Linked DNA regions of Homo sapiens: region 2 is linked to region 1. The links are contacts of gene promoters, found by promoter capture Hi-C in human tissues and cell types (Jung and others, 2019). All regions are on one chromosome and are shown on one strand. The core of a region is centred on a gene start or on the middle of the fragment in contact, and the rest is flanking DNA. Distances in the headings are between cores, read along the strand shown.

The links. The method cuts DNA at HindIII sites, captures the fragments that hold promoters and counts their contacts. A contact is called where the count stands out against the background at its distance.
Region 2: a fragment that was not itself captured here is called in contact with the fragment with the promoter of SNRPA1 in region 1 in 1 of the 25 tissues and cell types used here (spleen).

The regions. Positions count from the first base shown.
Region 1 is chr15:101,292,448-101,298,042 of GRCh38, reverse strand. SNRPA1 (small nuclear ribonucleoprotein polypeptide A') reads left to right here and starts at 2,795. Exons shown (of 9, transcript NM_003090.4): 1 at 2,795-2,946; 2 at 4,871-5,018. The coding sequence starts at 2,865. It overlaps SNRPA1-DT (SNRPA1 divergent transcript), which reads right to left and starts at 2,695. Exons shown (of 2, transcript NR_186319.1): 1 at 2,314-2,695. RefSeq lists enhancers at 2,447-2,536, 2,597-2,646, 3,210-3,841, 4,759-4,838 and a silencer at 2,877-3,066. The HindIII fragment of the contact is 7,299 bases long and covers 1,116-5,595 here.
Region 2 is chr15:100,660,112-100,665,706 of GRCh38, reverse strand. No RefSeq gene overlaps it. Among named protein-coding and RNA genes, the nearest start is that of ASB7, 60 kb to the right of the region's middle. The HindIII fragment of the contact is 6,198 bases long and covers 1-5,538 here.

The sequences.
Region 1 (5,595 bases), core at 1,546-4,045:
GCTGTATAGGGAACGGTTCATAAATCAGACTGTATTAAAATGAAGAACCTCTATTCATCAAAAGATACCATTAAGAGAGTGAAAACCCAAGCCACAGGGGGAAGATACTCACTACAGACATAGCTCACAAGGTTCCTATTGAAAAAATATAAAGAGCTCCTACAAATCAGTTTAAAAATAAAGCCCAATAGAAAAATGGGCAAAACACCTAAGCAGACACTTCATTAAAGAGGTTATCCAAACAAACATAAATATATTTTTTAAAGTTCTCAATTGTGTTAGTAATTAGGGAAATACAGTTAAAACCACAATTTCATACCATTACCTATCTACCAGAATGGCTAAGATTAAAAAGACAATACTAAACGTTAGCAAGGAGTTTAAGTTGGCAACCACTTTGGAAAACTATGTCCTACTTAAGCTGAACATAAGTAAGCCCTATGACCCAGTAATTCCATCCCTGGGAGTATATCAGTATATGTGTTCACATAAAGATATATATTATTGAGTTTGTAGGTACACTATTTATAATATAAAAGAGTGAAAATTACCCAAATGTTCATCAACAGCAGAATGGATAAGTAAATTGTAAAACATCCACAATGAAATACCATATTACAGTGAGAATAGATTAACTACATCTACACACAAACATAATGTTTAGCAAAAAATATGCAAGGTACTTCATTTGCATAAATACAAAACTAGATAAAGCAAATCTATACAAGATGGCAGGATAATGGTTACCCTTGGGGCAAGGGTGGTGACTAGATGAAGACAGGAGGAGGGCTTCTGGAATGTGGCAATGTCCTGTTCTTACGAGGATGCTAGTTGGTTGGGTGTGTTCAGTTTGCATTCTTCTATATGTATATCATACTTCAATAAAAGTTCAAGGAGAATCATCTCCGGGTGGATTGCAGAACTAAATGTGAAAAGCAAAACAATCGTCTAGTAGACCACATAGGAAAATATGATGGGGGTAAGGGAAGATTTCCTAAGGCACATGCACATGCACACACACCCAATCCACTAACCTAAAGAAAATAATTGAACTACATAAAACTTGGAAACTTCTCAGCCAGGCGAGGCGGCTCACGCCTGTAATCCCAGCACTGTGGGAGTCTGAGGCAGGTGGATCACTTGAGCTCAGGAGTTGGAGACCAGCCTGGGCCACATATCAAAACCTTGTCTCTACAAAAAATACAAAAGTTAGCCAGGCCTGTTGACCTGTGCCTATAGTCCCGGCTATTTGGGAGGCTGAGGTGGGAGGATCTCTTGAGCCTGAGAGGTCAAGGCTGCAGTGAGTCCTGATGGCACCACTGCACTCCGGCCTAGGTGACAGAGTGAGACCCTGTCTAAAAAAAAAAAAAAAAAAAAAAAAAAAAAATCTAATCATCAACACCATTAAGAGTGAAAAGGCAAGCCACAGAGTGTGTTCATATCCCTAATATATAAAGAAATTCCACAAATCAATAAGAAAAAAGGCAGACAACTCCATAAGGAAAAAAAAAAAATGAGCCAGGGACTCGAAAGAACACTTAACCAAGGAAGCTATCAGAATGGGCACCATACACATGAGAAGGTTCTCAGCTTCATTAGTTATTAGAGAAAAGCAAAGCAAAGCAGTAGTGCAATACCACCACACACCCATCAGAATAGCTGAAGTTATAGAGTTAAAATGCCAAGAAGGCTGAAGCTGGAAGCCATGAAAACCCTTACACACCGCTGGAGTGTGTATATTATTTCAGCCTCTTAGCATAACTGTTGGGCATTACTTATTGATGATAGATATACCCTATGTCCCAGCAGTCCCACTCCAGGACAAACTCATGCAAACGTGCATCAGAACCACGTACCAGAAAATTCATAGTAGCATTACTCAGAATAGCCCTAACTGAAAACAACTTTGATGTCTATCAACAGCAGAATAAGTAATTTATGGTATAATATATACAATGGAATTCTCTTCAGCAGCAAAAGCAAACAAACCATCTCTGTATGCAACCTGGATGGACTCCAGACATAATATAGACTCCATGAAACTAGGCCAAAAAAAAAAGCATACTGCATGATTCTATTTATAGCAAAAGCAAGCAAACCGAATTTGTAGTGTTGAGTTCGCGGTTGCCTTTTGGGAAAGAGGGAGGCTTTCAGAATAGCGGTGTTTTGGATCCCGGTGTCGGCTACGCAGCTGTGTTCACTCTGGTCATTAATCACTGTAAATTCCTGATATGCACACTTTTATGTATATCACATTTCATACATATGAATATTCAGAAGTCTAAAGGTCACAAGCTTAACCGCAAACCCTACCGTGCCCGAGGCCGGGCTGGACTTGCGGGGCGGTGGGGTTGTCCCGGCGACCTGCCCCAGGCGGGCCACCTAGCCCGGGATCTCACACTGTAGCCCGGAGCCAAGGCCCAGGCCCGGGGCGGGCACCTGAACTGCTGGACCCTTCACTGAACCCCACGGGTTCCCGCGACGGCTGGTGGAGGGAGGACAGTCACCGCTTCCCCTCCCACCTCGAGGTGCGCTAATGCATGAGAAAGTTCCCCTCGGGTGTTTCCACATTCGCCTTAACTTTTAAACACCAACGTCTGGAATCAGGGGTCCTCCAGACTCCGAAACACACCCTAGGAAACAACCCAGAACGAGACACATCCCCTGTGCGCGCGCCACGACTTCCGGCAAGAACGCCCCCGGAGGCGTGGCTCTTCGATTGCTTCGGCCTGGCGGTCGAGCTGCGCGCGCACTCGGCGGCTGCGATTGGTGCTGCCTGGCGGCGGGGCGCGGGGCACGCTGGGACGTCTCGCTGGCGGGAGGCCACGGGCTTTCCACAGCGCGGGGGAACGGGAGGCTGCAGGATGGTCAAGCTGACGGCGGAGCTGATCGAGCAGGCGGCGCAGTACACCAACGCGGTGCGCGACCGGGAGCTGGACCTCCGGGGTGAGTCCGGGGGCGTGGGCGGCCAGTCCCCAGGCGGCACCGAGCCGCCTTATTTTCCGCGCTTTGCCGCGTGCACCGAAGGCCGGAGCTTGGCCCGCGGGCCGGTTGTCTGGGCTCCGACCGGGCTGCGCAGGGAACGCCGGGCCTGATTCTTGCCGTTGTTGCCAGATGAGCATCCGGTTAAGCTCCTGGGAGCCTTCTGTTAGCGCCGTGCCTCTTGACAGGCACGGGTGACTTCATTACTTCCTGGTGCGTCCTCGTGGGGCCCTGTTAGGCCTTGCTTGGCTGTTTCGCCGCTGGCTGTTTGAGGGCCCGGAAGAGCGGCTCATTAATGGTTGTAACGCAAGTGCAGGGCGCGGGATTGGTTCTTAATACTTGCCGCCAGATGATATTTTGAGCGTAGATAGGATATGTGTTCATTATTCCTAATGTGAGGGAGGAAACTAAGTCCCCGAACAACCGCGATTGTTTCCTCCAGTATTTTCTACTTAGTAGCTTTAATTGTCTGGCGTTTCCCCTATATGAAGACGTTTTAAAAATTGAACTGTGTCACCCAGGCTTGCACCGCCGGGTGCTGTGTGTAAGTTGTGGAAGCGCTCGCAATTATTCAGATTCCTGTACTATTTCAACCTTAGCAAGACTTGGTAAGATACTGGGAGGGCAGCTAGCTAGTTGGCATTTCAGGAGACGGCTTTAAAAGGGACGTGATAGAGCAACTTCTCTGAGGATAAGACCATGCTGTCGTAGCCTGAGATTTGTTCCCATGGGGACCTATGGCCTCGGAGCAGCATCGCTGCGGGATCTGCTTAGATTTCTTGCCGACCTTTGGGAAATCCCACTGTTTTGTGTTGTGTTGTGTTGAGATGGAGTCTCGCTCTTTCCGCCCCAGCTGGAGCGCAGTGGCGTGATCTCGGCTCACTGCAACCGCCGCCTCCCCGGTTCAGGTGATTCCTGTGTCTCAAGCCTCCCGAGTAGCTGGGAATACAGGCATGCGCCACCACGCCCGGCTAATTTTTTGTATTTTTAGTAAAGACATGGTTTCTCCATGTTGGTCAGGCTGGTCTCGAACTCCCGACCTCAGGTGATCCGCCCGCCTTGGTCTCCCGAAGTGCTGGGATTACAGGCTTGAGCCACTGCGCCCGGCCCAACTCACCACTTTTGATGATCTCTGCCATTTCTCTTTATGGAGCATGTGCAGTGTTGAGAATACGTATTTTGATGCAGTACGTGTAGTACAGCTCTGAATTGTGTCCTTTAACTTTGGGTAAGTTCTTTTTTTAGTAGACCTTGCTTCTTCGGAATATTTCTTTTCTTATAGTGCCTAACACAATAATTATGCCCAAATTAGACAAATTAACATTTGAGTGTTCACAGATTTATTACTGTATTTAAACCATTGATCTTCAATTCTGAATTGGAGCTGGGGGAGGGGAGGGAGAACTGTCGTGATATGTTGAGGCTGTTCTGATGGGTTCTAAGAATCTGGCCTGTGGAGATGCAAGAGTGGAGAACTGTCGTCCACAATGTTTGAACGCCGTTTGGGCACTGAGACTAAGCAGCTCCAAGTGTAAACTCCTGTTGTGCCGATTCCGCTTAACTAGCCCAAACGACTTAGGACAGTGTGAGGCACCTTGTAAATGTTCTTATAAATGTTAGCTGCCTATATCAGCCATTGTTATTGTCCTTGTCCTTGTTGTCATCAGATTCTAAGCTTCATGGCACTGGGGACTTGAGACTCGTTCAGCGTTTTCTCTCTAGTATCTTAAACAGCGGCAAGTCATGCGTGACCCGACATAGGTGCTAGGTAATACTTCCTGAATAAATCAAAGCCTGGAGTCAGATACTATGAAATACAGCTAATGCTTTAAGGGGCAACTGTTTAGTTATATTAATACCTCTTGTGTTTTTTTCCTCCATTTTATAGGGTATAAAATTCCCGTCATTGAAAATCTAGGTGCTACGTTAGACCAGTTTGATGCTATTGATTTTTCTGACAATGAGATCAGGAAACTGGATGGTTTTCCTTTGTTGAGAAGACTGAAAACATTGTTAGTGAACAACAACAGAATATGGTACGTGTCTGTAGGGGAAAGTAATTTTTTCCCCTAGAGTAAATGTTGCAGTGTTTCCTGAAGAAGTTGTAGCACGTGCTACTGGTTAAACCTACATGTTTCTTTTTCTTTTTCTTTTTCTTTTTTATTTATATTTTGAAAAAATATTTTTTCCATAATGGAAGCCACATTCAATACATGTTTTTTCTTAAAATGAGAAATGAACTTCACTTTTCCTATAGAGATCCAGAGATTAACCTGGCATTAGTCTAGTCTTACTTGTATCTGTTCAGAAATCATGTATTTTTATTTTCATGGTTAAGTTTCTAAATAAAAACATGTTGCTTTGTATACATTTTGGCTTCTAAAACAATTATCAAAGGGGTCATAGTAAAAGGATATATAAAGGTAACAATTATACTTTTGACTGAGCGTCTCTGCTTTTTTTTTTTTTTAACTGCAACTAATTTCTAGACTGTTACTTATTGAAATTGAGATCTTTTTTGACCCTGCCTTCATCAGCTCTGTGTAAACTTTATTGGAAAAAAAGCACTTGGTGTATAGATAATGTCTTTAAAGGTACTGGGTGGTGAGTGGG
Region 2 (5,595 bases), core at 1,190-3,689, 630 kb after region 1:
GGAGGAGTGCTTCTGGCAGAGGAACAGTCCGTGCACAGAAAGGCTGCAGGGCAGGGGTGTGCTCTGCACGTGGGGATTGCAGGACTCACAGCGGCTCCAGCAAAGTGCTACAGGCCAGAGAGGGCTGGAAGCCACGGGAAGCACTTCAGATTTGGTGAGTTGGAAGGCATCAGTAGGTTTGAGAGGAGGAGTGACATGTCTGATCTGTGTTTTTAAAGGTTAAAGCCAAATGATCCTCTTGAAAGAGTAAACCAGAATATTATCAAGTCTATGAAGGCAGGGGTGATATCAAAAACACCGAACAACTTTCCAGACAAGGGCTCTGCCAGTCTCAGCTGACACTGGTCCTTGCATAGAAGCCAGGTGCCAGAGAGCCCACCTGCTGGGGCAAGGGCCAGTTCTGGAGTTCCTGGATCTGGGTGAGGTATCTAAGATCCAGGAGGTCTCAGGGAATGCCTGTTTGCCCATCTGTATGGAAGTAGTTAATATTTTAACAAAAGAATGGGTAAACACACGCACATATAAAGATAAAATGAATATACATAAGAGTCAGTCATGTCTCCATTTAACTGTCTAAAGTAGGTAGAATTGAGTTGGAAGTTTAAGAAAACCCAATCAAGGTCATCAATGAGCAGTTCGACTTCTTCCCCAACTGCCTTTATCCATAGACAATTCATCCATCCATCCATCCATGCATAGAATCCATAGTTTTTAAGTTACTGGCACATGCCGAATACTGTTTTAGTGGAGAGGGTTTATCAGTAAAGACAGGCAACATCATGGCTCTAATGGAGTTTATATTTTTATGTAAATGGACAATCAACAGATACACATCAAGCAAATTTCAGCCTGAAAAAATAAAAGCACTTGATGATAATAAGGTGATTGGGAAGTAGGTTAAATACTTTAGATTCCAGAAAAAAAAATCAGCAAGAGAAAGACAGTAGAATAGAACCTGTTCCTGTTGTATTTCTGGAGAAGCACCTGGCCATGTGGAAGGCTCTTTATGTTGGCTGGAAGAAAAATTGAATGTGGAATGTTATTTAGCCAACAACAAGAATTCATTATATCTGCACGTGGTAACATGAAAGGGTTTCTGCGAGTAGAAACATGTAAGCTGCAGAGAGATCATTTTTGTAAACTCCATGCAGATAGATGCACAGAGAAAGAGCTGGAAGAACCCACACTGCATGGTTAGCACTGGGAAGGAAGAACAGGCTTTCACGTTTTACCTAAGGTATTTGTTCACTGATTATGTTTTAAGGGTATATGCTCATTTTGAAATAAAAAAGGACTTTTCAAAAGATGCACCCAGTAATTATATGCATTGGGGAGGTGACTTAGAGCAGGAATACTGCTGAATAATTTGGTTCAAACATGAAACCTACACAAGACAAAGTCACTTGACAGAGGATGACTCTTCAGATGTTCAGGGAAACTCACGCACTCACTCACACTCGATGCATCGGCCGGGCTCCCTGATGCCCCCAACGCCTCTCCTATGTCCAAGGAAATACTTCTGCAGAGCACGTTAGAGTTTCCAATGCATGTGTGTTATCTCAGAGACAAAGGGCAGAAAGGGGAAAAAACAGAAAGTACAGTACGGTAAGTCTCAAATTTCAGCATCCTGTTGTCTCCATTGAAATAACTTGCCAGGAATTCTAGCGGTTAAATAGTCCAGATCTTTACTACAGAGGAAGATTAGAGACGCTGGCCCGATGAATTCAGTCCAGGCGAATTCTGTTACTGGTTTGCAACAAAAATAACTGGATGGGAAGAGACTGTCCTTGTGTTTTCTCACCCTAGAAAGACCCGCTTCATGTTGGGAGTATTAAAAGCCTGGAGACAAAGGCATCCTGTGCTGATTTTTGGACAGTATTAGAAAACTAACAAGGCGTGCCCTCCCTAAATTCTCCTGGGTAGTGTTGGTCCAAGGGCCTCACCATGGACAGCTGCACACAAAAAACCGGTGGGTGGGAAGCTGGCAGGAGAGGGTCCCAGGGTGAGGGCTCCCTGACCCCAGAGGCTCAGCCTGCGAATCAGGTGACTCAAACTCCTGAAAGACCCTGTAATTTTCAGTTAACTAAATGGGGGGAAAATCAAGATGCAAATCACCTTTCAAGTATTTAATTTAATTAGACAAGGAAAATGAGGCTTCTTGAAAATTCTTACTCGGTATTAACTTCTGCCACAAAGCAGCCGAGAGTAATTGGTAAAAGTGAAAAAGTGATTACCGAGGCTTAAGCTTATTTCTCACAGCTGGTGCACTTTTACAAAGTGAGTTTCATGGTGCTAAACCCTCCACCAGAGCAAGACGGGCCCTGGAGCATGGATTCCAGCCTTTTCATAAGCCACCTCTAATAAGCCATGGTGAGAGGGTGGGTGGAGAGGGGAGCGTGGTAACAGGCAACGGATGTGGGGCTCCTGGCTCCATCTGTTGCCCTGAGTTCCTGGTTTCTCCCCCTGCTGGCTTCTCTGTGATGTGAGGATCACAGTGGGTGGCAGCTGAAGGAGCCCTCGGCTCATGCCTCTAACCCTGGGCAAATGACGCAGCCAGAGTCATACCACCAGTTACCAGCACAGCCAGCCTTCAGTGTCAGCCTGCGTGAGGCCAGGTTAGGCTCTTCTGTCTATTTAGCAAGCTAATCAGGAAGAAAATGGAGCCTGGTCTCATGAGCGCACTGCAGAAGCTGTTCATCTCGAATTCTTCGGCAGCCTCGCTTTCGTGTTACTGCATTAATAATTTTTGTTTATCTTCTTTATTCTCCAGGGGTCTAAACATTTGGAAGGTGGGTTCCTGATCCCATTCCTCCTCCAGGACGGACTACCGTGCATCAGATATAGGAAGCATTGGACATAACAGTTGAAAGAAAGAAAGAAAGGAATCTCTCCATGTCAATAACCAACCTAACTGATGAACTTTAGGAGTCTGTTTTTTCCACCAAAACAGAATAAAACTTCTAAGTAAGGGGTCAACACTTGCAATGCACCAACCTCTGTGCTGAAACTCAAAAACTGAGGAAAAAATAGACTCAGCCCACAAAAAACAATTGAGTGGGTAAGAAGACAATTTTCCTTTTTCATTTTTGAAAAAAAAATTAAAATGAAGGCTCAGAGAAAAATAACACAGTCATGTACTTACTTCCAAAACATGTACATTTCATCAAACTCACTTTCTCCCTCCCAACCCAAAACAGTCAAATAAAATCAATATCATGGCAAGCCAGGACTTGTCTGGGGTCCTGAACCAGTAGGCCAGGGATCTAGCAGCATTTCCCCCTAGAAAAATATTGTTAGGCAAGTTAATAGATATAGAGGTTGGAAAATATGACCATTGAAATCTCTGTGAGGATTCAAAGATCCTAAATATTTTGTTAAGCACATTTGCCTGATGAAAGATTCCTGAACCCCCTCTCCCTTACATCTTGACAGGCTGTGTTCTCATTAAGAGGGGCTACAAAACTGGCCAGGCTTTGGAGCAGGGCAGGCTGGACCCAGCCCTGGGCTGTCTGTAGTAGATGACTGTATTTTGAAGAGAAACTTCGGATGTCCTTTTTCCTTCAGAGTGGTCTGTTTTTCTACTTTCAAAGGGGAATATGTCAAATCCATCAAATTGTATACATTAAATATGTGTGATTTTTTGTATAACACTTATATCTCAAAAAAGCTGTTAACCAAAAATGAGATGGAGTCTCGCCCTTTACACAGGCTGGCGTGCCGTGGTGCGATCTCAGCTCACTGCAACCTTCACCTTCCAGGTTCAAGTGATTCTCCTGCCTCAGCCTCCTGAGTAGCTGGGACTATAGGTGCCGGCCACCACACCTGGATGATTTTTTAAAATTTGTTAGCAGAAATGGCATTTCACCATGTTAGCCAGGCGGGTCTCGAACTCCTGACCTCAAGCAATCCGCCTGCCTTGGCCTCCCAAAGTGCTGGGATTACAGGTGTGAGCCACCATGCCTGGCAGACCACCTCTGTTTTAGTAGGCAGATTCCATGCAGAGATGACTCCATGTCGGTGGTCCCACCAGTGGCTCCAGGACCCACAGTAGCAGCAGCATCTGATGTGAGGCTATGCTCACCTCCTGGCTGATTTATTTTTCTTAATGCCCCCGCAAGAAGCTCAGCTGCATTGAGTGGCTGGGAAAGGATTCGTAGGTGCCATGGTTTCTTTTACTGTTCAGGGGTTACGGGGTGGGTTGGTCAGGCTGCAGCCAGCTGGAGCTGGCAAGGTGTTTTCTATCTGCGATCGGCAATTGGGGCAATGCTACCCATGCTTCTTAGAGACACTTCATTGGCAGGCCGCCTCACGGGCAGTGCCAAGGCACATGCTGGCTGAGGCAGCTAGAGTCATCGTCTCTCCCACCCTGGAGCAGGCTAGGGCTGTCATTATTCACGTTTGGCACACATTATTATTTACAAGCCACCAAATGAGACTGAAGAACATTAACAGCAGGATAACAGAACTACAGGCTACTGGTTTTGTCTGTGCCCAACTGAAATTAAGTAGTTGCAAAAGATAATTGGAGACATGAAGGTCTCGATGTCGAGCCAGCTTGTAGTGTAGCCGGAGAGATTTGTAGTCTTTGTTCACATAACACATGCAGAACTATTCAAGGCCGGCCCATAAAATACAAAGACTCAGTTTCACGTGTGGGTTCTGAAAAATCACTGCATCTTTACTTACATCTCATGGATAAGCAGATAGGTGGCTTTTCTAACATCTCATAGTGACTGTAGGATTTCTTTCTTTTTCTTTTTTTACCTTGTCCTTTCTTTGCTACAAAGAGTCCAAATACCCTCACACAGTGGTTCTAAGTTGGGTCCACAGACCAACAGCACACACCTCACAGTCCAAATACCCTCACACAGTGGTTCTAAGTTGGGTCCACAGACCAACAGCACACACCTCACCTGGGTGCTTGTTAGACACGGAGATTATTATTTTTTATTTTTTGAGACGGAGCCTCACTTTGTCACCCAGCCTGGAGTGCCGTGGCACGATCTTGGTTCACTGCAACCTCCGCCTCCCGGGCTCAGGCAATTCTTGTGGCTCAGCCTCCTGAGTAGCTGGGACTACAAGCACATGCCACCACGCCTGGCTAATTTTTTTTTTTTTTTCTGCTTAGTAGAGATGGAGCTTCATCATGTTGGCCAAGTTGGTCTTGAACTCCTGACCTCAGGTGATCTGCCTGCCTCAGCCTCCCAAAGTGCTGGGATTACAGGCATGAGCCGCCATGCCCGGATAGACGTGGAGATTCTTAAGCCCCACCTGAGAACCGCTGCATCTGAAATTCTGGGGGTAGGACCCGCACTATTTTAAAAAGCGCTCCAGTGGGTACAGATGCTTGCTCACCTGCACTAATGCAGAGAGTACCGTAATTCCACACCCCAGGGATGGCACCGTAATTCCACACCCCAGGGATGGCACCGTAATTCCACACCCCAGGGATGGCACCGTAATTCTACACCCCAGGGATGGCACCGTAATTCCACACCCCAGGGATGGCGTACGTTTTGAATCTGGAAAGTAGAAGTCCCCGGCTCCGCACAGCCCCAGCCCTGATCTCCACCCAGCCCAATCTTCCCGTGCCAG